Linked DNA regions of Homo sapiens: all the other regions are linked to region 4. The links are contacts of gene promoters, found by promoter capture Hi-C in blood cells and fetal thymus (Javierre and others, 2016). All regions are on one chromosome and are shown on one strand. Each heading gives the region's core, a stretch centred on a gene start or on the middle of the fragment in contact. The rest is flanking DNA. Distances are from core to core; before and after follow the strand shown.

Region 1 (4,145 bases), core at 302-2,801, 210 kb after region 4:
GGAGACGTTGTGGTGAGGGACGGAGGCCTCCTGCCAACAGCCAGCACTACTGGCTATGTGAGGGAGCCACCTTGGAAGCAGATCCTCCAGCCCCAGTCAAGTCTTCGGATGACTGTGGCCCAACTGATATCTTGGCTGAAACCTCAAGGGTGACTGAGCCAGAACCAACCGGCAATGCTCCTCCTAGACTCCTTTCCCAGAGAAACTGTGTGAGATAATAAATATTTATTGTGTTGGGCCACTATGTTTAAGGGTAATTCATTATGCAGCAGTAGATAACTAACACAGCCTTTTAAAGCTTCTGGTCAGAATTGGTGTATGTCACTCTACTCTCATTTAATTGGCCAAAACAGATCACAAGATCAGCCTGGCATCAAATACCTATGGAAACATTGCAAGTCATAGAGGAATGGGTAAGGAAATATAGCCTGCTTACAGGAAGAGGGAGTGAATGGTTAAGCACAATAGTAGAGTTCACCATATCCTACCCCAATTCGTCCTGTTCCTTCTCCCACCATAAAACACAAAGTTGACCATATCAGCTTCCGTTCTTAAAACACTTTAGTGGCTCTTCGATGCCTCCAGCACAAAGTGTTACCTCTTCCATCAATCCTTCCAGGCTTCCATGTTCTTCCTCTGCCTCAGTGCCACCCTCTATCAGCTTGTGACTCTATCCTGTGCTCTGATTTGTCTGTTCACCTGTGCATCTCCTTGATAGCAGAGACCACACTGATTCATCTTTCTCTCCTGATTTCTCAGCACAGGGTCAGATGGTCTAATTTTGTGATGAATGGATGGATGACTGGATGGATGGATGGATGGATGGATAGATAGATAGATGGGTAAATGGAAGGCTGAATAGATGCAGGGAGGGACAGGCAGCAGAGAAAGTATGGGGATAAATGAGCAGCAATCCTTTGGAGTTTTGCAGCTGTTGCATATGTGAGCCTTCTCTCTCTGACCAGACAAGCAACTTCTACCTCCGAACCCTGGCCTGGGAATCAGGAATCAAAAGGTGTGTGTTAAAGTCTTGGCCTTGTCTTGTAATGGTTTTGTGGCATTGGGAAGGTTCAAAGTTTTAATCACTAGTGAAAGTTAAAAATGCCTGAGGAACAAAATCAAAATGAATGAAGATCTGATACAGTGCCTTACAGACTGATATATACTGCGCCTGTGAGGTGTGCCCCTCTCCAGCCTCTCCCATGTGCTGCAAATAAGCATAGAGGTGGACTGTCAGTGTCCTATGTCCCTGAGAACCTTGAGTAAACCACAAGCTGCCCTTAGGACCTGGCTGTGAGACTGCAGGACAAGGGCCTGGACAATGGAGGAGAAACAGATACCTGGAACTGTCACCAAAGGCCCCTACAACTCCTCTGGAGGGCAGCCTCAGGATGGGAATAACTTTGGGCTCTCCTTTCTTTATCATAACAGTCACCGTGGTGATAGTGGCCACCACCATTCTCTGCAGGCCACCAGGCACTGGTCCACAGAGCTCTGGGAGATGAGCAGCACACGGCTGTCTACCCTGCCATGCGGGTAGATTCACAGAAGCCATGTGTCTTTGGCCTGACTCTGTCTTCCTGGCTAGAGCCCATTGGTCCAGACAGGAACATTTGACCCCAGGTGAGCTTTAAATGTTGAACAGAGAGTTTTGGAGCCAAGTCACATCAAGGGTGGGGTGGTCTGGAAGGTGCCAAAAACCCCTGCTGATTACAACAATTTTCCTTGTTGCTCAAACTCATTAGAGATGGTTTTTGTCATTTGAAGCTAAAGGATCCTTTAAACCTCATGACAGGCCGGGTGCAGTGGCTCACGCCTGTAATCCCAGCACTTTGGGAGGCCAAGGCAGGTGTATCACAAGGTCAGGAGATGGAGACCATCCTGGCTAACATGTTGAAACCCCGTCTCTAATAAAAATACAAAAAAATTAGCCAAGCACGGTGGTGCGTGCCTGTAGTCCCAGCTACTCCGGAGGCTGAGGCAGGAGAATGGCATGAATCTGGGAGGCGGAGCTTGCAGTGAGCCAAGATGGCACAACTGCACTCCAGCCTGGGTGACAGAGCGAGACTCCATCTCAAAACAAACAAACAAACAAAACAAAACAAAACAAAAAAAACCTCATGACAAACCAGCAAAAAAAAAAAAAAAAAAAACCACAACATTTTATTGTGCCCATTTCACAGATAAAGGAACTAAGAAGCTGAGAGCTGTATCGACCAGCTCAAGTCCCTCAGCTAAGAAAGTACAGAGGAAAAGTAGTGCCTCACCAGTCCCATTATCTCAACAGTCCTCACAATAGCCCCACTGTGAGGACTGGCAGAGCAGCATGTTCATTCCCAATTTGCAGATGAGAAAACTGAGGCTCCAAAAAGAGAAGTGACTTTCCCAAGGTCATACCATGAGCAAGCAACCGAAAGGACCCAAACCAAAGTTTTCAGACTCTTGTCCAAGGGCTCTTTGCCCTGCCCCTGCCCCCTACTCCCAGGATCCCTTCTGCTAGCAGCTCCCCTAAAGTGCTGACCTTGTGCCCTGAATCTACCTACTCACTCAGAGAGAAGTTATGTGGCCTTGGAGCTACTTCCTGAACAAGCAAAGGAACAGCTGCTGGCCCCAGCCTAGGAGAAGAGAGAGCCTTTGTAAGAGTTAAAGAAAGAGGAAAGAAACTCGAAGTGTGCCTCAACAGTCAAAGACAGGTTTATTTTAGAGAAATAAATCTGAGAGGGGCTTCTGGCCAATTTCGGTCAGGAGCATTGTCTCTTACAGACTAAGAGTATATATTGGTTTTAGGGTGAGGGGGCTTATCACAAGCTTGGAATATTTCTGTGTTAGGGAGAAGTTTTATGGCGGGGTTGGAATGTCTCTGGTCAGAGGGGAGTTATCTCAGGGCTGGCATGTCTCTGGTTGGGGAGGGGTTTGAAATGTTTCTGGTTGGAGATGTGATTTGTGGTTTATGGTCCTGCTGACCTTAGCCATTAGGCTGATATCTTTTGGATTTAGGCAGTTTTTGATCAAGGTGGACTTAAAATGACAGTGCTTGTCCAAGATGGCAATACTCCTGCTCTGTCAGCCTCATGCAGGGTGTAGGCCCTGGTCCTGCAAACTTCCAACCTCAGTTATTAGTATCTTGCAGCATCATTGCAGCAGGACACTCGAGCATCATCCTGGCCACTAGAGCTGTGCCTGCAGGGCCTCAGTTACAGCCATTAGGTTTGGGGCCTGGGAAGTGAGGCTCAGGCGAGGTGCTTTGGGCATCCATCTCTTGGACACCTGCATGCAGTGAGAACCTTGGCTGAACACTTCTACCATAATGGGTTAGGAAATGTGCCCAAAGGCAGAAGCCTGCTTCCTGGGAGAGGCTGGAGAACTAGGACTCATCCACCAAGAGACTGCAGACCCATTTTGTAGTGAAAAGTGCTCTCCAGAATTTAACCAAATGCTCACCAGCGTCCCCAGCAGAGGGGAGGAGCCCAAGGACCTCTGTCCTCTCTCACATCACCTCTCTCTTCCCTGCCTGTTGCTCCAGGACATGTTTGTGAGCCTGTCAAATCACTCAGGGAAAACTAAAGTGACAAGTAGCCTGGATGTCGGCCCTCCCTTCCTCTAAAACCTGCTGTGGCTCCCCATTGTCGAGAAGGTGAATAACCAACCAAAATGTCTTTGATTTACACCCACACCATGTTTAGTATATTTCCTCTAATTCTTACCACAATCCCATGTAAGAATGGAAGAAGTTCCCATATCACAGATGAAAAACATTAGGCTAAAAAAGATGAGTCCACTAATTGACAAGGCCAGAATGGGAACACAGGTCTTGATAATATCAACTATTAACAATGACACCGATATCAATACCTGTTCCCAGAGTCGCGCCTAACGTGTATTCTATTTATTGAAGGAGATGCTAACGGGGAAGGTGTCCTGGCATCTCAGTTTCAGCAGTGGCTCCAGGTTCAGTTACCTATGAATAGCTGCATCACAAACAGTCCAGAACTGATTTGCTTTAAACCGTGATGATTTATTATTTCTCATGACTCTCTGGGTTGACTGGGCAGACCTTCTGCTCCATGTCCGTCATCTCAATTGTTTGCGTGGCTGCATTCAGGTGGTTGACGGGCAGAAGGTCTGAGAAGGTCTCTCACATATTG
Region 2 (3,699 bases), core at 75-2,574, 210 kb before region 4:
CCCTTCAGAGGACTCTCCCTGTGGCCTGTAGACCTTGTAGGTTTCAATTATGCATTTGGTTTATTTCTGACTTGCTTCAACCCCTTTAGATCCTAATAGTGGCCATGGAAAATGACGGCTGTACAGTATATATATAATTTGAGATGGAGTCTCACTCTGTTGCCCAGGCTGGAGTGCAATGGCATGATCTCAGTTCACTACAACCTCTGTCTCCCGGGTTTAAGCGATTCTCGTGCCTCTTTTGAGCCTCTTTTGAGCCTCTCCTTTGAGCCTCTTTTTCTTTAGCTGTAAATGAGGGATAACAATTGCCTCTACTTTCCACAATTGCTATGAGGATTGAATAAAAGATGCATGGTAAGTCATTGGCCTAGAGTATAGAGTAATTATATTTTCCTACAGGTTTCCATTTTTCCTATTATTATTATTATTACCCCCACATGATTTTTTTTTTTTTTCGGGACAGAGTCTCGCTCTGTCTCCCAGGCTGGAGTGCAGTGGCGTGATCTTGGCTCACTGCAACTTCTACCTCCCTGGTTCAAGCAATTCCCCTGCCTCAGCCTTCCGAGTAGCTGGGATTACAGGTGCATGCCACTATGTCCGGCTAATTTTTTTGTATTTTTAGTAGAGATGGGGTTTCACCACGTTGGCCAGACTGGTCTCGAACTCCTGATCTCAGGCAATCTGTCTGCCTCGGCCTCCCAAAGTGCTGGGATTACAGGCATGAGCCACAGTGCCTGGCCACCCCTGCATGATATTAACAAGGCTGAGGCTGAGGCTGGTTGGAAAGACCTTGATGCGTTGAGTCGGGGCCTGAAGTCATCACTGGGAGGTGAGGGTCTTATAACCCTATGGTGGAGATGGACATGGGTTATGCTTAGGCAGCTGGGGAAGGAGTGAGCCAAGGAGAGAGAAATATAACATCCATGCATTTCCATCTGAGGAGTCTAAATTCCTTCTTTGTCCTTTTAATCTGGATTTTTTAGACCTATTAACTGTAAGAATGACTGTGTTGATTAAGCTCTCCTAATACATTTTTGAATTCATCACCAAAGCAGTAGGAGTCTGTCCTACATGTCTCCTCACCTCCCCACCCCACAAAACACCCCAGCCTACAACACAGAAGTTGCCCTTTGTTTTTGCTGACCCCAATCACTGTCATAGCACTGGGTTGAGGGCCAGCCCAGCATTTCTGAGGATCATATCTTTGGTAGCCAATCCCTTGTCCCTCTGGACCTTCCTCTTCTTCCAGTATCTCAAGGTCTTGTTGAAATCTTGAGAACACTGTTGACCTCCCTTCCAATGGTATGACCTAATTCATTTGCAAAGGGCTTATCTTCCAAAGGGAGAGAGGTCCATGATAGAAACTCAGCAATGTGATTATTGCATAATGTACTTGTTAAATTCAATGAACAGTAAAAAGTTCCTTGGCATAGCTTAAGCAAAAGACAGGGCTTGATTGGCTGGATGTGTCACAGAACCCAAGGGCTGAACGGCAGTGGACCTTTAAGGCCTGGTACTCAGCAGGAAAGCCATCAGGATACAAGGCTGCCATCTGCCTCATTGCCTGATGGCCTCTTATTTCTATTTTTTTTTTTCTGTATGTGAGCACCTTTTCATTCTTTTTTTTTTCTTAATTTTTTTTTGAGACGGAATCTCGCTCTGTTGCCAGGCTAGAATGCAGTGGCGCAATCTTGGCTCACCGCAACATCTGACTCCCTGGTTCAAGCTATTCTGCTGCCTCAGCCTCCCGAGTACCTGGGATAACAGGCACACGCCACCATGCCCAGCTAAATTTTGTATTTCACCATGTATTAATTTTTGGGTTTCACCATGCTGGCCAGGCTGGTCTCAGTCTCCTGATCTCGTGATCTGCCTGCCTCGGCCTCCCAAAGTGCTGGAACTTTTCATTCTTCTATCTTCAGCCTGATCTTTTCTATTCTGCTTACGGATGGCTCAGATGTGGTTACCTGGGCCCTGGCTTTCCATGACCTCCCAATTCATAATTCTTCAGAGACCGATTACAGTGTATATTAATTTAAAACTTGTAGGAGGAAGACTCTGGATAGCCCAGCCAAGCCAATGGATTGGCTCCCCCTGTGTCAGCTGTGACTCACCAGTCACCAGGTGCCAGGGGATGCAGCGTGCTCCTATATTTCCTGAACATCTTCATGCAAATAGGTTCTGGATAACACACCCCCTTGAAAGAGACTTTCCCCATGTTGGAATGGCATTCTGCACCCTTATGTACAGACATAACCTCCTGCAGGCCGAGCAGCAGTGGCCTGTTTGGAGCAATTTTGTACCGTCGGCAGCATGACTCCTCAGTGGTCTGTGGATCTCCAGGTCAGAGCCGTCTGCCTGCAGGTTACATACAGGCTGAAATTTCACCAGCAGCAGCTAAAGTCAGGTCACAGCCCAGTCATTATAAATGCCAAATGTGTTTGGTCAAAAGATGACCTTTGTTATAAACTACAGGTCCCAAGAACATTGCCAGCTGGGAAGTACAAGATTCTTTTAAATCAAAGAATTGAGAGAAAATGCATAACTGTGCAAAATCACCAGCAAGGGTGCCTGGAAGCTACTGCTTCTTCTAGTCAAATGGAAATCTTTCAATGATGCCAGGTGGTGCTGTTAAGAAGCAGAATTCTTCCCCTAAGCCCACATGTTCATCAGGTTCCTTAAACCAACAGCTTGAGAAATTTAGATTTCCTTCAGCATTCTTTCAAACTCTGGGCCCAGTGATTTCTTCTGTAATTTTAGAAAAGCTTATTATGCCATTTCTTTGGGGGGCCTGGGAGAATCAACCCTTTCAGGTTTCAGTTTTCTCAGGGTGGAAATGGGAAGCTGAACAAGATGATCCCTATGGCCCCCTCAGTCCAGATTTTCTGTCATTCTGTGGCAAGAGTCCAGGCTTGGGTGAAGCAGGACTGACATGATAAACTTTGCATGGCTTAAAATATGAGGGCTCCCAAGCTCCTGGGTCTGTGCTCCTCTTTCATCTGTTTCATGGTCATGCCGTTTGGCTGGTCTTTCTTTCTTTTGTTTCTCTTTTCTTTCTCTCTTTCTTTCTTTCTTTCTTTCTTTCTTTCTTTCTTTCTTTCTTTCTTTCTTTTTCTTTCTTTCTTTCTTTCTTTCTGTCTTTCTTTCTGTCTTTCTTTCTTTCTTCTCTCTCTCTCTTTCCTTTCTCTCTCCCCTGCTCTCCCTCTCTCCCCCTTCCCCCTTCCTTCCTTCCCTCCTTCCTCCCTCCCTCCCTCCCTTCCTCCTTCCTTTTTCCTTTTTCCCTTCCCTTCCCTTCCAAGACAGAACTCACTCTGTTGCCCAGGCTGGAGTGCAATGGCACGACCATAGCTCACTATAGCCTCAACCTCCCAGGCTCAAGCAATCCTCCTACCTTAGGCTCCTGAGTAACTGGGACCACAGGCATGCACCAGCACGGCTGGCTAATTTTTATTTTTTTTAATGTTTTGTAGAGACAGGGTCTTGCTATGTTGCCCAGGCTGGTCTCAAATTCCTGGGCTCAAGCAATCCTCCCACCTCAGTCTCCCAAAGTGCTGGGATTACAGGTGTGAGCCACTGTACCTGGCCACCCTTTGGCTTTTCAAACCATCCTTGAGCAAGCCTTGAGGCCTCTGTTGGAGAGTCTTCTTTGTACTAGTCCATCAACATCTTTTGTTCATTTGGATTCTCTGCGTTGAAGTT
Region 3 (3,753 bases), core at 469-2,968, 190 kb before region 4:
GCCATGCACAGATTCGGGATGTACTGAAACGACCTTAGCAGTGAGCTCCCAGTCAGTTCAGAAGTTGGAACATGATGCTTACGAGGGCAGAGTCACAGGGTCAGTCCCACCTGGACGAGGGCCATGTCAGCCAGCAAAGCTAACAAAACAGCATTCTCTTCCAGACCAAGCCTGGCCATGGTCCTAGACTGGGTTCCAGCTGCTGACATGGCCTGAATTCTCCGAGACTCAGATTGCTTATTCCTCCTGCAGCACCACCGGCTGTCAGGGCAAGACGTCTGCATGGCCTCTGCCACCAACTGAGCAGACGGGGGGTTGGAGGGACCAGAAATGCACAGAGAGGTTCAGGGATTCCCCCAGAGTTACCAAACCAGCACTGGAACCAGGCGTGGGCATCAGTAGAGGTAAGTCATGTGCCCGTTGCATGGACCAGCAAGCTGAGGTTAATTACTCAACAAGCAAGCCCAGGTTGAGTATCCCTAATCTGAAAATACGAAATCAGAAATGCTTCAAAATCTGAAACTTTTTGAGGCCCCCACGCTAGAAGAATTGCTCATTGGAGTGTTTTGGAGTTCGGACTTCCAGATAAGGAAGATAAGTGTAACGCAAATATTCCACTTCTGGCCCCAAGCATTTCAGACAGGGGACACTCAAACAACTGGGCCCTCGCTGTGATTCAGGCTTTGTGCCACGTGCCACCTGCAGATAGGATGGTTCCGACGGCCCAGGAGCTCAGCATCCGGCTGGAGCGTGGGACAGGGAAATAAATGATGGTTTTAAAAGGGTCATGAGAGGAAAGACATGACTCAGTATCTTGATGGTGGTGTTATATACATGAAGCTACACAGGCGATAACATTGTACAGAACTCAATCCATGCAGACAAAATGAGAAGCAAAACTAGGGAAATCTGAATAAGTTAGGGGGACTACACCAATGTCGATACGCTAATTGTGATATTATTGTTTAGTTTTGCGAAATGTTATAATGAGCGGAACTGGACAAAGTGTGCAGGCATCTCTCTGTATTATTTCTTACAACTATATGTGGATCTACAATTATCTCAAAACATTTTTTTTTTGAGATGGGGTCTCGCTCTGTCACCCAGGCTGGAGGGCAACAGCACGATCTCGGCTCCCTGCAACCTCTGCCTCCCAGGTTCAAGCGATTCTCCTGCCTCAGCCTCCTGAGTAGCTGGGATTACAGGAGCATGCCACCATGCCTGGCTAATTTTGTATTTTTAGTAGAGACAGGGTTTCACCATGATGGTCAGGCTGGTCTTGAACTCCTGACCTCGTGATCCACCTGCCTCGGTCTCCCAAAATGTTGGGATTACAGGTGTGAGCCACCGAGTCTGGCCTCAAAACATTTTTTTAAAGAACAGGTGTCTCTGCTGAGGCCACTCTCACCCTTCAGTGCGTTAGGAATGGGCCACCTTCCTCCACTCCTCAATAGAGATAGGAAATCAGCTCTCGGCCATGACTTTCAGAAAGGCTAGAGTAACCTCCTTTGCAAATTTTTCCTGTACTTCCTGCAGCCAGAAGCTGGGGGTTCCACTAACGATGAGCCACTGTAGTAATAAGACACCTGTTGCTGATGAGAAACTTGTCCTGAACGGTCCCTTGGCTGCCTGGGAGGCTGAAATAAACAGCAAACACGCATTCGAAGAAAGCAAAGCCTTTCATGAAAGAGAATTGGGTGGAAAGTTGCTTTGCTTTCCTAGAGTCCTTGGGAAAAAGATCCTGACATAATTACTCCCAAGTCCGGGATAAATGAATACAGAAAGTGCTTTACAGAACGCAGTGAGTCTGATGGATTTTATTGATCGGCTTTTCCCCGTGTTTCCTGGGGAAATACTGCACCTTCCTCACTGCGGCTTCCTCACTCCGGCCCAGTGACATAGACACGATTGTTTTCATTACAGGATGGCATTTCCTTTGAATGAAATATGAAATGGGGTGTATTCCGCTCTCACTTCGGGCAGTGTGGTGCCTGGGCTTGGACAGACATTTCATTATTTCCAAACAAATATCACCTTCAATCAAATATTAATTTTGTATGAAACCAGAATGATCACTAGTGGTTTTTGTCACCAAGTAAAAGAGCAATGAACGGCCCAGGGGTCATTAATTTCTTCCCAGAAAAGCAAGTGTGTGTGTGTGTGTGTGTGTGTGTGTGTGTGTGTGTGTGTGTGTGCATGCACGCACGTGCGCGCATGTGTGTGTGTGATACAGGGAACCAAGTGAGAAAGTCAGACTGGAATCGCTTTCATCTTTATATTCTGACCCCTGATGCTTCTGTTCTTGTTTCCCAGGTGGGATCACAACCTTTGTGAGTTTCTTCTTGTTTCTGGAGGTAAACAGACATGTACTGTGGTGCAGGGCCGGAGTGGGAGTCTGGCCACCCTGGCAGGCTCTTTAGCAAAGGGCAGAGTGGCCTGGGAGGCAGCACACCTTTGCCCCGCTCTAAACAGCTCTAAACAGACCTGCTGTGCATCCCCAGCACATACTGGGCCTGTCTGAATCTCCGTGTCTTCAGAGGTGATGGGGATGCAGCCTACATGATCTCTAGAGTCTTCTGGCTCCTGTGTTCTATGACATTCACTACAGCTTGGGGAATTTCCCCATATATAGTCTCCTTTATGAAACCCATCAGGGATGAGGAGTGGCCCCAGCTATAGAAAACTGCAGGAAAGGCCTCGGCCCCATGAGGGCTTCTGACCCGTTCCCAATCATCCCTTTCATGCTATTTCTGCTTCCTTTTGGGTTTCTTCCGCCTTCTTCCAACCTCCTTGTTATCAGAGAACTGCAGCTCTGACCTCGGCTTGAATACCTCCAGTGAAGGGGCGCTCCCCACCTTCCAGGCAGCCCAGGCTATTAGGTATTGGAAAGTATTACTCTTGTAGTCTTTCCTTATGCTGAACAAAGAGAGAGACATTTCCCTATCCGTCTTCTTTCTGCTCCCTGGTAGTACACGGAGTAAGGCTAATTTTTCCTGCAAATGACAGTCAAGTGCTGAAGAATGGTAATCAAGACCCCCTTAGTCTGCTCCTCTCCAGAATTAGTACTCCCAGATCCTGAATCATTTATGGCATGTAGTCATGAGTCTTTATCATTCTGATTTAGTTCTTCTTCTTTTTTTTTTTTTTTTTTTTTTGAGATGGAATCTCGCTCTTGTTGCCCAGGTTGGAGTGCAATGGTGTGATCTCAGCTCACCACAACCTTCGCCTCCCGGGTTCAAGCAATTCTCCTGCCTCAGCCTCCCAAGTAGCTGGGATTACAGGCATGCACCACTATGCCCGGCTAATTTTGTATTTTTAGTAGAGACAGGGTTTCTCCATGTTGGTCAGGCTGGTCTCGAACTCCCGACCTCAAGTGATCTGCCTGCCTCGACCTCCCAAAGTGCTGGGATTACAGGCGTGAGCCACCGTGCCCGGCCTGGTTTGGTTCTTATAAAGAAGTTATAAAGCTAAAAGTGTCCCTTCTTATATATATAAAAATCAATCATAAAGCTAATATAATTATAGAAAAATTAGTTACTCGGGGAAAAAGTTGTCAAAATTTCCATTTTTAACCCACTTACTATGCATATTTTGGTACATTCTTTTCTGTCTTTTTCTCCATATGTTTTTTACAGTTTTGAACTGTAAATTTGAATACTTTTTACCCCTTTCTGCAGTAAATGTCGTGTCAAAATTGTTTTCCGTGTTCCCTCATAGTGTTTACTTTTACTCTTCAATCTATCAATGCATTTA
Region 4 (3,905 bases), core at 961-3,460:
CGAGCACAGATGGCATGGATACCCAGCAGCCTTTTGCTTTTTCTTCTTGAGTCACCTCCTTCCCTGGTGGCAGCCACATCAACTCTTCTGCTTGATTATTCTGTACCAAGTGTCTGCTGCTGCAGATGGACACTTCTGAATAGCAGCTGCCGGGAAATGTCTGGCTTCCCAGAGGAGCTGGGCTTGAATTCCCCTGGGCTCAACTGGCTGTGAGCCTTTTGTGATCACCCACCTGAAAGCCTCATCTGTCAAATGGGCACATGAAGGCATCTATAGACTTATCAGTTTTAAGTGGGACAATGGGTACGAGAGGGCCAGGGCTGGCTTCATGGGTATGAGATCTGTGAAAGGCTCTGAATTCTGTGCTCAGAAGGGACCCGTACTGGTTTAATATCCTCCTTTTATCTCTCGAAATTCTTGATAGTGTTTTAAAAGGGGGCTCCATTTTTATTTTAGGCCCTTCAAATTATGTAGCTGGTCATGGAGAGGGCTTTGCAAACCAAACAGCATTGCGAGACTGCACAGTGGGTTGCTGTTATAAATCGTAACGACACACACATTCACATTCTGTAAAGGATATATATGTGAAGGGGGCTTTTCTGCAAGGTTGGGACTCTGAGGCAGCACAGAATTCGTCTCTCACTTACTGTATCCTCTTCCTGGGCTTAAGGATATTAAATCCAGGTGCCCCAAGACCTTCAGAGCATTCTGCCTTCATGCGGATGGTGCAGACTCTGTTCTAATTCTGCACTTGGCCAGACATAGCTATGCAAACTGCAGCGAGTCTCTTCCCGCTCTGGGCGCCACCTGACTGACCCGCGTAAGGAGGGACTGTGACTGGTCCCCAGGCAAACGCTTTCCCTGCCACCTGCACCTGTTGCAAGCCAGCTCCTCGGAGCCAGGCCAAGCAGCTCTGCCCCTAGCGGGAGTCGGAGGCATGAAACTCCCTTTTAGGAAGACGGAGTAAGAGGCACCACCACCTGCTCCTGCTGCCTCTGCTGTCCTCAGCTTCTGGGAGCATCTTAGCAGCCAGCTCCGGGTGAGGACAGGGTCCACCGGTGCACATGGCAGAGCAGGGCAGATGCTGTGACTTGGCGGCTTTGGGGGAACAGGGTGGGGCTCCTCCCTGGGAAAAATCTTTAGGTTTGGATCCAGCCTTTATTTAAAGAGGGGGATTGTGTATAGACTTGTGTGACTGTTCAGCCTCTTTCCACCTCGGTGCGTGTGTGTGTGTGTGTGTGTGTGTGTGTGTGTGTGTGTGAGAGAGAGAGAGAGAGAGAGAGCCTGTGGGTCAATGCCCAGTATGCCCCTCTGAGAGTGTGTCTGTTAGTAGACACCAGTGTGTGACATTGCTTCTGTGGGCAACTATGTCAAGGCGTGGGTTTGTCACTGTGTGCGGTGTGGAGCAGTATGATAAGCCGGCGGCCGACCCCCGAGTGTGTAGACGCGGGAGCTGGTGTCAGGGTATTTGTAGGGCTGCAATTCTGTGTAGGTCTGTCTCAGATTGTGTGAGAGTGTCTGTGTTCCAGCAGGTGCTTGTTTCTGAGTGTGAATGTGTGTGAAGCTGTGACCGTCTGTCTCTAGCTCTGCATGGGACGGTGATCCGGTGTGTGTGTGTGTGTGTGTGTGTGTGCGTGCGTGTGTGGTGTGTGTGTGTATTAGAGTGCACTCTAAACTGTGTGGCTGTGTGTGTACGTGTGCGTGCCTGTCACAGTGGCCCAGTCTGCTTCTGGGTGAGTGGGGCAGAGCCCAGAGAGTGTGTGTGTGAGTGTGGGTGTCGGTGTCTCTGGGAAGCAGTGATTCGGGATGTGTGTGTCAGGCAGTGTGCGGCTGTCGCTGTGAGTCTGCATGGGAGAGTGGCGGCGTGCTCTCCTCTGCGCGGCAGTGCCCCGTGTGTTTGTGGGTCTGTGTCTGGGTGTGAGCGTCATGGTGCGTGTGTTAGAGCCCGTGGGGCCCCGGTGAAAGGCTGTGGCTCTGGGTGACTGGTGTGTGTGTGTGTGTGTGTGTGTATCAGAGTGGGTGGCGGCGTCTCTGCTCGGCAGTGGCGCGTGTGGCCCGCCCCGCGCGCGTGTTCTCGCGGGCCGGGGCAGGGCGTGGGCCCCCTCCGGCGGAGCCGCGACCCCTCCCCCGGGCGGCGGGAGGTGCGCACCGGCGCCTCTAGGACCCGGCGGCGGCCGGCCGCTGTCCCCGGGCCGCGCGAGTGAGCATGTGCAGAGCCCGGCGCCCGCTCGCCCGCCCGCTGCCCGCCCCGGCTCCGCGCCCGCCCGCCCGCCCCGCCGTTCAGCCCGGACGCCAGCAGCCCCGGGGAGCCAGGCGGCGGCGCCCTGTGCCCGGGCGCGTGGGTCCGCTTGCCGCGGGCGGCCGGAGACGTGCGGGCGCCGGGGCTTCTGGGCTCCGGGCACTGCGGGGGGCTGCGGGCTCGGCGCCCGGGGAAGGCGGGCCATGGGCGCGGGTGCGGGCGCCCCAGCCGGCCGCGATCGCGGGGTGAGTCCTGTCTCTCGGCGCTCCAGCCGGACCCCCGCGCGGGCTGCGAGCAGGGTGTTCCCCTTGCCGCGGGCAAACAAGTTTGTGCAGACGCGGTTGGGAGCGCGGCGGGGCTGCACCTGCTCCGGCTGCAGGGCGGGCTTGCCGGGGGCACCTTCCCGGGGGCCCGGGGCGGCTCGGCCGGGGCAGGGGAGAGTGAGCGGGTGCGTGCAGGGGTTGTGGGGGGGCGGGGGCGGCGCTCGGCGCGGCCGGGATGGGGTGGGGGTGCGCGAGGCGCCGCACGAGCCGCGTCCCCCTCCGGAGTCCTGAGAGCCCGTCCGTCACCCGGGAGGGCGCTGCGGTTGGTCCCGGGGAGGGGGCGAGGGCAGGGTGTGGGGTGCGCACAGCTTCCCTCCTAGGCGGCGACGTTTACCCAGAAGCAGCTCCCTCTCGTTCCGCTACCAAGAGAGGCTTCCGGTCAGCGGAGGGTTTGCTCCGTCTCTTGGTGAACTTGAACAGAGGCAGAGGCAAAAGCAAAACGTATGTATTTTGTCCAGAAAATTACCTAGTGTAGAGCTTTGCGTCTTCGTAGGTGTGGACGGAGACTCACGACTGAAGGTTGCTAAATTGCGTTTTTCTTGGCTACTCAGGAGCGTACGTACCTGGCTGGGTCCCCTGCCTCCGGGTAACCTCGCTGGTGGTTTTCCTGAGCATTTGTGCGCCTGGGATGATGCCTGCTCTGCTGATCGGGAATGCGGGTGGGGAAGGGGACCGCTCTTCCTTCCGCTGAGCAGTGGGAAGGCTCATATAGGAGTTCTAGCCTCATAGCCCTGCACTGGGATCCAGCTGCTCCCCACACTGGCCCTGCCCCTGCAGCTCCCAAGATGGACAGATGCAGGACTCCGCTGTACTTTTCTAACATGAGATACCCGCATCCCTCTTGTTGCTGGAACAGCATGCTTAGGTTTATGGAGGCACTTGGTTTATCCCACTTTGGCATCAGGAGTGGGGGCCTTTCTTTTTTCCTCTGATTTGCCTAGGTTGTCAGGCACAGAAAGTGAGGGTGGTGGGGAGTGAAAGTTACAGGAGATATAAAGCTGGCTTGCCCTGCGCTGTTTGCAATCACCCACTCCTGGTGGCTGCAGGTGCTGGGGAGAGAGCTAGGGGAGGTTTCCTTGGGCTATGGGAGAATGAGGTTTGTCTCTCTCAATCATGCCCCCACCCCCACACACTTAGATTGGCCCTCAGGAGATCCTCCGGGAAGGGGCCTCAACCGGCTGCCAGAGCTCAGGGTTTCTAGGAGGAAGAGCAGGAGCTCTCCCAGGCATGGGATCTGAAGGAGGCTTGGCGGTGGTTGGGCTGGTGGCTGAGCCTGACTGCCTCATCTTCTCCGCCAGAAGGCTCTCACCTGTGGCTGCATCCTCCAGGCCTCAGCAGGGCCA
Region 5 (3,680 bases), core at 602-3,101, 250 kb after region 4:
TTCTACTCAGCAGAATCAAGTCACTAAGCCCAATCCTTACTCAAGGAAAGTGGAATGAAGCTCCTTCTCCTGAAGGGGAGCATCCCCCAGAATCTGTGGACATGTTTTAAAACAACCACACTCCAGGAAAACAGACCTCCATATTCTGGTATTTAGGGGTCTTCCATCTCTAAAGCCAGCTCCTTTACCAACATTTTAGAGCAAATTCCACAATTTAACAAGGTCTCCTCATACTCATAGGCTACCGAAGCAACTCTATATTCCTTAATTTAAATGCAAATTGTCAACCAGGACACCAGATATTTTTAAAGGAAAACAACTTGCAGTAGAAAAGAGAATAACTCAACAATAATAAAGGAAAATACTGACCCCTAAGGGATTAGAGACAATTCAGGAAATATAAGACAATTAGAAAAAAACAAAAAACCTCTGGTATCTTCAGGAAGAATCCAGAAGATGTTGCATCCATTATACAATAAAATGATTCTATAAAACAGAAACAATTAGAAGACAAAAAGGAACGGTTAAAATTAAAAAATATATGGCCAAAATTTTTTACATGTGTAAAAGGATTGTTTTAAAAAGTCAAAAGCAATAGTTCAGAAAAACATAAAAACAACAACAAAAAGAGATGAAAACAATGAGAGAGAGAAGAAAAAAGATATACTGAATAAATCTGGGAGGTTCAACAGGTATTGGATACCTAAAATATATATATATTAAAGTGTATATATATATATATATATATATATATACACTTTAATATATACTTTATATATATTAAAGTGTATATATATACATTTAGAAAAGTAAGAAACTAAGAAACTTATCAAAGCTAAAGGACATGAATATCAGTGTTGGAAGTTTCACTAAGTGTTCAAGCATAGTCAATGAATAAAGAATAATATATAGACAGTTCATTGGAAAAATTTAAAATGTCAAGCATAAAAAGAATGCCCTTTGACCTTCTAAAGCAGAGAGGTTGGCAAACTAAATTCATGAACCAAATCTGGCCCACCACTTGTTTTTGTCAATAAAGTTTTATTGGAAATGGTTATGTCTGTTTGTTTATGTATTGCCTATGGCTGCTTTCATGTTACAACAGCAGAGCTGAGCAGTTAGAACAGAAACCACATGCCTGCAAAGTCTAAACTATTTGCTATCTGGCCCTTTACAGAAGAAAATTTGCTGACCTCTGTTCTGAAGATAAAACTTACAAAAAGAGAGAAAAGTTCACCCCCAAAAGAACAAAGTCAACCTGGCATCAGAAACTTTTTGTCAGCCTCATTGAACACCAGAAGGTAATGGGAAAATGCCACCAAGGTGCTGATGGAAAATAATTTTTACTCTAAAATTCTATAGTCTATATTGAATGCCAAGATAATATAAAGGCATTTTCGGACAGCAAAGACTCAGAAGCTTTACTTCCCATGTACCTTTTTAAAAAGTGACTTGAGGGTATGCTCTGGATAGACAAGGAAGTAAATCAAAAAACTAGGAAAGGACGCAAGAGAGAGTGGATTCACTAAAGCAAAGCCCTTGGATGGCAGCCATACAGTATGCCTAGAAAGCATTCAGCAGAATTAGACCAGGAAGATGGAAATATGATGAAAGGGACAATTTGAACCATGTAATTCTGGCCTTGAGAATTCAGAAAAAGTTAACGAAATGATGGAGTAATGGTGGGGGAGCAAAGACAACTGCCATTGTGGAACTTCGGGATCCATAAGGAGTCTTGTGTGCTGCTGCAGGGACTTGAGACCCCCTGAGTTATGGCCTGAAGAACGGGTCCACTTCCCAGGAGGGTTGTCCACTGACAGAGTCTGGCGTGTTCTTCCACTGGGAAAGTCTGGTGGTTGGACCACCAAGGCAACTTCCCTCACGGTTAAAGCTCATTTTTTTCACTAAAGGGGCTAGATAGATTTGGCTCATTTAGAACTCAAAACCTGCCAAGAATGATGAAGCTCAAGAGGAAGATTTCCAGTTTCCTGGCAAGTGCCAAACCCAGAGTACCCTTGCATGTGGTCTCGAGAGAAAAGGGTATGTGAATTCTGTGAGCACTGCCCACTAACTCTTGCTGGCTCCTGGGTTCTGGGTTCGGTGAAAGCAAAATCAGAGAAGGAAATTTGAAAACTTTCTCCAGAAGTCCCAGATTCTCCCATCTTCTGGGACTCATTCCTCACTCCCACCAAGAGCCTCCTCCTCCCTCTCCTGCCTTAAGCCCACTCACTCTAGAAACTCTACAATTCTTTTTTTTTTCTTTCAAGTAGTCAAATAACCTCATTAAGCTTTGTTTCAAACCTTATTTCCAGGCTTCTTCAGCTTAATTACCTACAAGTAATGAATTGTATATAAGCAAAAATGAATTGTATGTAAGCAAAAAGCTGCAGTGTCCAAGGGGCTTGGGCTTAAAAATATTAGAGATCTAGATTTTACCAGATCCATATATCAACTTTATAAAGCAGTCAAGGCCAGGCGCAGTGGCTCACTCCTGTAATCCCAGCACCTTGGGAGGCTGAGATGGGTGGATCCCCTGCAGTCAGGAGTTCGAGACCAGCCTGGCCAACATGGTAAAACCCCATCTCTATTAAAAACACAAAAAAATTAGCTGGGCGTGGTGGTGGGCACCTGTAATGTCAGCTACTTGGGAGGCTGAGGCAAGATAATTGCTTGAACCCAGGAGGTGGAGGTTGCAGTGAGCTAAGATCGCACCATTGCACTCCAGCCTGGGCGACAAGAGTGAGATTCTGTCAAAAAAAAAAAAAAAAAAAAGCAGTCCTAATGTAATATAGCAGCTCCCAGTAATTTCTGCAGGTTTTATCTTCTTCAGAAGTTGGCTTAATTCGGTTTGCCTCATTCTTGGAAGCCTCATCAAAATTCTCTGCAAGAGCTGGAACTTCATCATCATCCTCTCCAGTAGCAAATGGTGCTTTTTCATCCACAGACTGTTTGGGCAGAGCTTCAGCCCATCTTCCCAAACTAGCCAGACTGTCTGCATCTCACCGGCTTAAGATGCTGGGTAGCGTTTCCATCAGCTGCTGTGTCTCAGCATGGCCTGCAATGGTGAAAGAAGTGTTTGCTGCCAAAGATGCCTGAACTTTAGGATTGTTAAAGCGGATCACTGTTCCTTGATCTACTTTAACTTGTAAATGTATTCACCTCTTCAATACCAGATATTGTTTGCCCCTAACTTCTTCTTCTTCTTTTTTTTTGAGATGGAGTCTTGCTCTGTCACCCAGGATGGAGTGCAATGGTGCGATCTTGGCTCACTGCAGCCCTACCCTCTGCCTCCCAGGTTCAAGAAATTCTCCTGCTTCAGCCTCCCGGGTAGCTGAGATTACAGGTGCCTGCCACCATGCCTGGCTAATTTTTTGTATTTTTTTTTTTAGTAGAGACGGGGTTTCATCATGTTAGCCAAGCTGGTCCGGAACTCCTGACCTCAGGTGATCCACCCACCTCTGCCTCCCAAAGTGCTGGGATTGCAGGTGTGAGCCGCTGTGCCGGCCCCTAACTTGTTTAAGAGCTGAAGTTTTTTTAATCATCTGCTGTAGCTGTTCTGTGAACCACCTTCTTCTTTCTACAACCAATTTCTTTCCCACCAATGCACGGTTGTGCCTGAAGTTTGGCGGGTTTTTCCTAGTTCATGATTGTCTCTTTCATCTTGTCAGAGCAGAAAAGGG
Region 6 (3,791 bases), core at 813-3,312, 190 kb after region 4:
GGGTCAGGACCATGCCTTTCCACCTCTGAATGCCACCCTGGAGCAGGACTGGCCCCATCCTGGGTGGCCTGCAGGGAGAGGAGGCTGTTGCTGGTAGGCACATTTTGAGGTGGGGGGAAAGGAAAAAGTTTGTAAGAGAGCTGTCCAGAGAAGGCATGACTTTCCCTTAAGAGTTAGCGAGTCTCCAGGTGTCAGGAGAGGCTTGACTTTGGGAGAATGTTGGAGTGGAAAGTGTAACAGAGGGATGTCTGGTCTTTTGGCTTCCCTGGGTCACACTGTAAGAAGAATCATTTTGGGCTGCACATGTCGTATATTAACACTGACGATAGCTGATGAGCTAAAAAAAATCACACAAAAAAGAAATCACAAAAAAAATCTCATAATGGGCCTGATGCAGTGGCTCATGCCTGTAATCTCAGCACTTTGGGAGGCCAAGGTGGGCGGATCACGAGGTCAGGAGTTTGAGACCAGCCTGGCCAACATGATGAAACGGCATCTCTGTATTTTGTAAAAATACAAAAAATTAGCTGGGCATGGTGGCGGGCGCCTGTAATCCCAGCTACTTGGGAGGCTGAGGCAGGAGAATCGCTTGAACCCGGGAGGCGGAGGTTGCAGTGAGCTGAGATCACAGCACTGCACTCCAGCCTGGGCAACAGTGTGAGACTCTGTCTCAAAAAAAAAAAAATCTCATGATGTTTTAAGAGACTTAACAAATGTGTGTTGGGTCACATTCAAAGCCATCTGGACTGCAGGCCTCAGGTTGGGCAAGCTTAATATAGCATAAGATAGAAGGTAGAAGTAGGGGACCTTTGAGGTCCCATGAGTGTCTGCAACTTATAGTCCATATTTGATTGATTTGCTTCTGCTGAATCAGAGAAAGATGAATCTATTCCCCTGGATTAAGGAGGGATGTTGAATTGGACCTTGAAGACACTGAGATGGAGGTAACTGTGGTCAGAAGAGTTGCTATGGATGGGACCATGTGTGAATAATCCCATGTTGTATGGCTTGGTAGAGTAACATGTGCCATAGGCACACGACAGATGAGGGAGAGGAGATCAGAGCTACTGCAGTCTGAAGACCCCTGGAGAAGGGCAGGAGGCCAGAGAAATCAGGGAGACCTCCCTGAAAGAGGTCAGGTGGACATATTGGAGTGCTCAGGAAGCCCTGGGGAGGTGAGACTGAAGGAATTGTGAGTAACTAGCCAAAGTTGTGGAATGAGGGATCCGGCTCTTACTAGCAGAGAGTGGTTAAAGACAGACCAGGGACCAGGCACGGTGGCTCACACCTATATTCCCAGCACTTTGGGAGGCCGAGGCAGGTGGATCATGAGGTCAGGAGTTCGAGACTAGCTTGGCCAAGATGGCAAAACGCCGTCTCTACTAAAAATACAAAAATTATCTGGGCGTGGTGGCAGGTGCCTGTAATCCCAGCTACTCAGGAGGCTGAGGCAGGAGAATTGCTTGAACCCGGGAGGCGGAGGTTGCAGTGAGCCGAGATCACGCCGCTGCACTCCAGCCTGGGTGACATAGCAAGACTCCATCTCAAAAAAAAAAAACAGGAGACAATGAAGCCGCAGGTGAGCCAGGTAGTTACAAAAGAATGCGATCTCTCAGCAAGGGGAAGACCCAAGGCTGGGGAGAAAGTAGCACCTGGCTGGCTTCTTGAGGAAGCGTTGCCAGCAAGGAGCTCTCACATCTTAGCAGCGACCAAGGTAGTAGGCCATGAACTGTAATAGAGGCAGAGGGTTTGTTAAGATTTTAGAAGCAGACAGTCCTGGTTTGAAGTCCTGACTCGACTATGTTCCGAATGTGTGATCTTGGACAAATGGCTTAACCTCTGAGCCTTAGTTTCCTCATCTGTAAAATAAGTCTTAAAAAAAATCTCTCCAACCCTCCAAGAGCTGGTGTGAAGATTAGATGGGGTCATGGATGTCAGCATGATATGTAAACTCTGAAGTGCCCTGTGCTTATGGAGGTGGCCACTAATGGCATAGTATGGCAGAATCTCTGAATTAGAGAGTGACGGGAACTGCCTGGGGCTCCGAGTCAGGTCTTGAACTTACCATCAAGCTGGAGAAAACTTCCTTCTTCAATTTAGGGGTTGAACTGATAGGCCTGGCAGTGGTCCCACCTTTGAGCGGCTGTCCTGGAAACAAATACATGCGAGGATGTCGGCTCTTCTTCCATTCTGCAAGTCAGTGTCAGGTCAGTGTTGGGAAGTGGTGACCTGCAGCTGTCCACCTCCAGCTGCCTGCAGAAGGCAGACTGATCAGAAAGTTCTTCCGTGGCATTAGAATGGAGAGACTTAGGCATGCTAAATGCTGAAGGGAAGAACCATGGAGAGGAGGGGGTGGTGACTTGCAGCTGGCTGACAACCCCTCCCTGATGGACGCCATGAAGCCGGTGTGTCCATGACTCCCGTGACCTTGTTCCCAGCCTCCCTTACCACGTCACAGTGAAGTCATTTTTCAAAGCTAACACTTGTAGAGGCTCCTCCAGGAGGCAGTTGCTGATGACTTTGAATTCAACGTGTGGATTTGGATCTTCAGCCCTGACCCCTTCTCTAAACCCCAATTCGATATATCTAACCTGCCTACTTGATATCATCATGTAGATAAGGGTCTCAAAGTATGACCCAAACAGGGTTCCCAGAAACCTGCTTCCCCAAATTTGTTCCTCTTTGAGTCCTCTCCTGCCACTGCCGTCCACCCAACTCTTCAGGCCAAGACCCCCCCCATGTCATCCGTGACTGCTCTCCTTCCTTTATCCCTCCATCGACCCCAGAAGGCCCTGCCAGCCCTTCCAAATATATCCCCAGTCTGCCTTCTTTTCTCCAGGTCCCATGTTGCCACTCTGTCCATACCAACATCCTCTCTCAGCTGGTGATGCAGCAGCCTCTTACTGAGCAACCTGCTTCCTCTCTTGGCTTTTCAAATCCATTCCCTGCAAAGTAGCCAGAAGGATCTTTTCAAAACATAAGTCATGTTCATCTTCTTAAAGCCCTTATTCTCAAGGCACATAAAATAAAAACAAAACTGAGTGGAAGCCACACTGCATGGGGGTCGAGGTGTGAATAGGATTTTAGGACAGGACAATGAAGAATCTAGAAACGCTTGCAAGAGACATGGCTGGGAAAGGAAAGACAGGGAGAGAGAGTCAGAGCTGCAAGCAGCAGACTGATCAGAAAGTGCTTCCGTGGTGTTAGAATGGAGAGGCTTAGGCATGCTAGACGCTGAAGGGAAGGACAGTGGAGGGGAGGGGTGGTGATTCGCTTGGTAACAGACGACTCCTGTTTTTGGGAGGAGAGACTTGAAGCTAATTCATATTGTTCACAGTGGCATTTCTTCCCCCAGATAAGCTTGTTTTTGTCAGTTCTCTTTAAACAATAAATAAAATAAAGGTGGGAATTGAACAATGAGAACACTTGGACACAGGGTGGGGAACATCACACACCGGGGCCTGTTGTGGGGTGGGGGGAGGGGGGAGGGGGGAGGGATAGCATTAGGAGATATTTCTAATGTAAATGACAAGTTAGTGGGTGCAGCACACCAACATGGCACATGTATACATATGTAACAAACCTGCACGTTGTGCACATGTACCCTAGAACGTAAAGTATCATAATAAAAAAAAGAAAATAAATAAAATAAGAGCCTCCTTACTAAGGCCCACAAGACCCTCCAAGATCTGGCCCCTGCCCAGTCTCCAGCCCCAGCCTGTGCTATCTCCCACCGCCTACTGGCCACCAAGTTGTGTGCTTTAGCCTGCATAAGAATTATCCAGAGAGTT
Region 7 (4,175 bases), core at 122-2,621, 230 kb after region 4:
GAAATAGTATGGGGAGATAAGGGATTTTGCTTTTTATTCTGTGTCAGTTGAATATTTATAATGAGCAGATATTACTTTTGTAATTTAAAAATTTATATAACTAATGTTCCTTAGATATAATGATTTGGTTTGTTTCTGTTTGGCTATATCTTGATATCAGAAGTTTAGAGGATCACAAACTGTCAAAATAAGGAGGGAACATAAAAGCTCATTTGGAATCACCTACTCAAGTTTAAAAAGAGCTCAGAGATGGGGAAGTGGGGAGGAGTCATTTCGCCCAATTCATGGCAAGTTACTGTCAGAGCTAAGGCTAAATGCCCTGGTCTCCTGATGCCCAGGCATTGCTCTTTCCCTGCATGCTGCAGACCCCAGCTGCAGATTTGACTGACAGCCTCCTCTCTCTCCACACTCAAGGATGGACAAGTACTGGTTCCAGCATGCATCATCCCTAAAGCCAGTGATGGCTCAGAACTTGATCTGCATCTCAACCACCTGTGGCTTCTAGCTGCCGCTCAGGACTCCTGCTATTATCCAAACACAGCCCATCTTCACTAAGACAGGGGTGATAATTACACGAGCTGGTTATTGTCACCCTCTCATCAGCTCTTCACCAAGATACAGACAAGATGTGGAATGTGAAAGGAGACACCTTGGCAACCACTGCAGCTGGGTCTGCAGATTGCCAGCCCCACTGTGACATGGCTAGTGTCTTCAGTCTCTTCTCTCATCCCTCCTTGTTTTGCATCCAACATTTCAGACATAGGGAATGACTAATAGAACAAACACTCATCCCACAGCACTATCACAGTGCTTTTCCCCTGGGATTTTAAAAAGAGTGCAAGTACCTGCATTTTTCCATCCTCCCAGGTGGTCTTGATGTGCACTTCATGGAGAGGCCCTTCTTCATTTTTATGTACTTTAGAATCCTCTATTTGCCAGAAATATCTGACCTTCATCACACTTGGTCCCAGGGCAGAGTCTTGCCTGCAATTGGCAATTGCAAATTGTTTTTCAGGTGAACGTTTGTTGGAATGAATTGCTTCAAGGTGGCTGGCTTGAGAAGGTGTTGGGGGGCTCTCACTTCCTTTTGGCATCCTCTATAATCTTAGGTGAGAAAGACCCTGCTCTTCTATGGATATGGAGGTGGGAGATTGGTGTTGGCAGAAGGAACAAAGCACACATTGATTCAACTAAGTCAGTCAAGCCAACAGTCAATTCCAATTGTGAGCAGCTGACCCTACAAAAGGATGGAAGGCAAGAAGTTCAAGTCGCTTGACATTTCCCTGATAATGTCCAATTGGCCACATTCCAAAAGCCAGGCCACTCTGATCAGATGCTCCCACTTGTCTGGGCTTCCAGAATGACTCTGCCTAGTAAACCTTCAGTCAAAGTTGATAGTGAGTGGAAATCTGGCCCTCTTTGACTTTTCAGCACCCGGGACAGCACCCAGCACCTAGTCCCTGCTTGGTGCTGTTTGTTGACATATCCCAGAGATGAGGGTGGAGGGTTTAAGCATTAATACCTTTCAGCAATGGAAGAGCAACGCTTGGCTGCCCTAACTGCACCCGATGGGCCATCAAACTTGTCCAGACCCCCGAAAACCAAGGTCAGGAATTGTGGAAGGAGATTCCTTTAAAATCACAGCTGGACTCAGATACTTACATAGGCCAGGGTACTGTGTAGGTGAGGCGGTATTAATCAAAGCAGCCTCAAGGCACCACCAGTCAACTCCCTCCAGATAGGGTATATTCTCAATATAGATCAGCACAAAACAAATAGATACAGACAGACTTGTGCTATGCTGTCCCCACCGCCTCCAGTCACAGAAGAGGACAATTTTAAATCAACAAAATGTTCACACTTATCTACTTTATTATCCTTTTAGCGACACAAATAACATATGCTAAAATCAAACAATCGAGTGTAGAAAGAAAAAGTGAATATCCTTCCCTACCCCAATAAGACTTCCACAACCACCACCATCATCCCTCAGGCATGTATCCTTTCACATATTTCTCTATGCTCACAGGGAAACATAGAGACTCACACACACACACACACACACACACGTGTTCTGGTTTTCTTCTCCTCTAAAAATACATAGGCATAAGTTGTTCTTTTTAACAATTGCATATTATACCATACAGGTAAACCATATATTATTAAAACATTCTCTTATTCATAGTTGTATTCATAGGTGTTTCAGTCAGGATTCTCCAGAGAAACAGAATCAATAGAATGTGTGTGTGTGTGTGTGTGTGTGTGTGTGTGTGTGTGTGTGTGTATATATATATAATATAGAAAGAGAGAGAGACAGAGAGAGATACATACATACACATATGTATGTGTGTGTGTGTGTATATATATATATATAGAGAGAGAGAGAGAGAGAGAGAAAATATTTTTGAGGAGTTGGCTCACATGATTGTAGATACTTGATAAGCTGCAAATCTTCAGGGTACACAGAGAGCCTGGAGTTCTGGTCCAAAGGCACTACTGTGCTGGAAGAGCTGCAGTTCTGGTCCAAAGGCACTATGGTACTATTGTGCTGGAAGAATTCACTCTTATTCCAGCATAGTGCTTTCTATTCTTAACAGAAAAAGGTCGCTCTTTTTCTATTAAGGTCTTCACCTGATTGGATAAGGCCCACCCACATTATGGAGGGTAGTCGATCTGCTTTACTCCATGTCTACTGATTTAAGTGTTAATACCTTTTCAGGAACACATGCAATAGTATTTGATCAAATATATGGGCACCATGTCCTAGTGAAGTTGACACATAAAATTAGCCTTCACAATAGGCATTCAAACATTTACCAAATTGTCACTCAATGACACATTCCAAGCTGGTAGATTTTTGTCCACATACTTTTCTTTCATCCCTACAGTATCCTGTGAGGTAGATAGAATTACCCTGTTTCACACATGATGAACTGAGGCTCCAAATTCAGGTTTGTCTAATTACAAGTTTGAGTTCTGACTCACTCTCCCACCAGCTCTGTGAGCTTGAGCTGTTTGCTTAACCTTTTGCTGTCAGCTTCCCACATATAAAATGAGCTTAATAACACATCTACCTCTAGGGTTGCTAGGAGGATTCGATGAGATAATGCAGGTAAAGGGGCTCACACTGCACAAAGCTTGGTAGACTATAAATGTTCCATAAAGACCACATATTATTTCTACTATTGTTCTGGCGAAGGAGGCCTGGACCCCACTTGGACAAAGCCCAGGAGCAGTCCCGCAACACGTGGATGTAACAGGTGCATAAACTATTTACAAACCACACCCGTCACCCGCGAGCTGGGGAGGCTCCTTAATTAAGAAGCAGCCCATCCTGCCACCTGGCAGTGTGTTTCCATTTCCTGGCCTGAGCTTCAGTGTTTCCACAGTTGGCACTTTGCAGAGGAGATCTGAGAAACATTAGCACTCTCTGAAGCCCACGCTCCAGACCCACTGGGGAGCCCACCTCTCCATCTGTCCAATCATGCACCAAACAACCACGAGGCAGGAGTCACTGAGAGATGTATTTAGAATGTGCTTTCGATTACTGAGGTGGAGGCCACTGAGTTCCACGCTGGGCAAGTTTCCTGGTGAACATCTCCTCTCGGCTGGGCCCCCAGGCCATTGCTGAGACACAGTTCAGAGTTTTGATGGCACTGTTCACCTGGTGGCTACTGTGAATCCCCTCTCTCTCTGTGGCTGGACTCACCCCAGGAACACAGGATGCTGAGAAGCCACTGCCATCTGTTCATACCTGCTGTTTCAAGCCACCTAGGGCTAGGGGATGATTTACATGGAGAAAAAGCCTGGGACATCAGACAGGACAGACTGCTCTGCCCCCTCACACACACACAGGCCACCCCCATTTAGACATGTGAACTGCAGTCACCATTTGCTCCAAAGTGTGAATTGCTGGGACCCAAGGCACCCATTTCTCAGCTTCTGAGCTAGAGACAAGGGATGTGAGATGTGAAAGTTGATGGGTTCAGGCGGGACTGATTAGCCCTCATGCCCACCTCTCTTGCCTTGTTCTGTGTAAAAAGGTTCCACGTTAATAGAAGGGAGAAGAGTTGGAGGGAAAGAAGTGAATCTGACACAGCATAGCTAAGTCATCTACTGCCCTGCTTACAGGACAGGAAGAGGGAGCGAAAAGAAATAGGTGAGTTCCCTCTGAA

The links. Contacts are between HindIII fragments. The CHiCAGO score rates a contact against its expected background, and 5 or more counts as called.
Region 1: a fragment that was not itself captured here is called in contact with the fragment with the promoter of WSCD1 in region 4 in 1 of 17 cell types (endothelial precursors); the score reaches 7.3 in endothelial precursors.
Region 2: a fragment that was not itself captured here is called in contact with the fragment with the promoter of WSCD1 in region 4 in 1 of 17 cell types (endothelial precursors); the score reaches 5.3 in endothelial precursors.
Region 3: a fragment that was not itself captured here is called in contact with the fragment with the promoter of WSCD1 in region 4 in 1 of 17 cell types (endothelial precursors); the score reaches 5.7 in endothelial precursors.
Region 5: a contact is called between a fragment that was not itself captured here and the fragment with the promoter of WSCD1 in region 4, in 6 of 17 cell types (endothelial precursors, M0 macrophages, M2 macrophages and 3 more). The highest score is 9.3, in endothelial precursors.
Region 6: a fragment that was not itself captured here is called in contact with the fragment with the promoter of WSCD1 in region 4 in 3 of 17 cell types (endothelial precursors, M0 macrophages and M1 macrophages); the score reaches 6.3 in endothelial precursors.
Region 7: a fragment that was not itself captured here is called in contact with the fragment with the promoter of WSCD1 in region 4 in 1 of 17 cell types (M1 macrophages); the score reaches 5.3 in M1 macrophages.

The regions. Positions count from the first base shown.
Region 1 is chr17:6,281,310-6,285,454 of GRCh38, forward strand. No RefSeq gene overlaps it. Among named protein-coding and RNA genes, the nearest start is that of AIPL1, 150 kb to the right of the region's middle. The HindIII fragment of the contact is 2,510 bases long and covers 297-2,806 here.
Region 2 is chr17:5,859,954-5,863,652 of GRCh38, forward strand. All of the region lies in intron 2 of LOC339166 (a long non-coding RNA gene), which reads left to right. Among named protein-coding and RNA genes, the nearest start is that of WSCD1, 210 kb to the right of the region's middle. The HindIII fragment of the contact is 2,878 bases long and covers 1-2,763 here.
Region 3 is chr17:5,878,026-5,881,778 of GRCh38, forward strand. The region is part of intron 2 of LOC339166 (a long non-coding RNA gene); the gene reads left to right. Among named protein-coding and RNA genes, the nearest start is that of WSCD1, 190 kb to the right of the region's middle. The HindIII fragment of the contact is 4,098 bases long and covers 1-3,753 here.
Region 4 is chr17:6,068,169-6,072,073 of GRCh38, forward strand. WSCD1 (WSC domain containing 1) reads left to right here and starts at 2,211. Exons shown (of 9, transcript NM_015253.2): 1 at 2,211-2,484. RefSeq lists an enhancer at 1,447-2,278. The HindIII fragment of the contact is 6,207 bases long and covers 1-3,905 here.
Region 5 is chr17:6,319,569-6,323,248 of GRCh38, forward strand. It overlaps the pseudogene BTF3P14. Among named protein-coding and RNA genes, the nearest start is that of AIPL1, 110 kb to the right of the region's middle. The HindIII fragment of the contact is 869 bases long and covers 1,418-2,286 here.
Region 6 is chr17:6,258,467-6,262,257 of GRCh38, forward strand. No RefSeq gene overlaps it. Among named protein-coding and RNA genes, the nearest start is that of AIPL1, 170 kb to the right of the region's middle. RefSeq lists a silencer at 1,463-1,757. The HindIII fragment of the contact is 2,591 bases long and covers 768-3,358 here.
Region 7 is chr17:6,302,439-6,306,613 of GRCh38, forward strand. No RefSeq gene overlaps it. Among named protein-coding and RNA genes, the nearest start is that of AIPL1, 130 kb to the right of the region's middle. The HindIII fragment of the contact is 3,528 bases long and covers 1-3,135 here.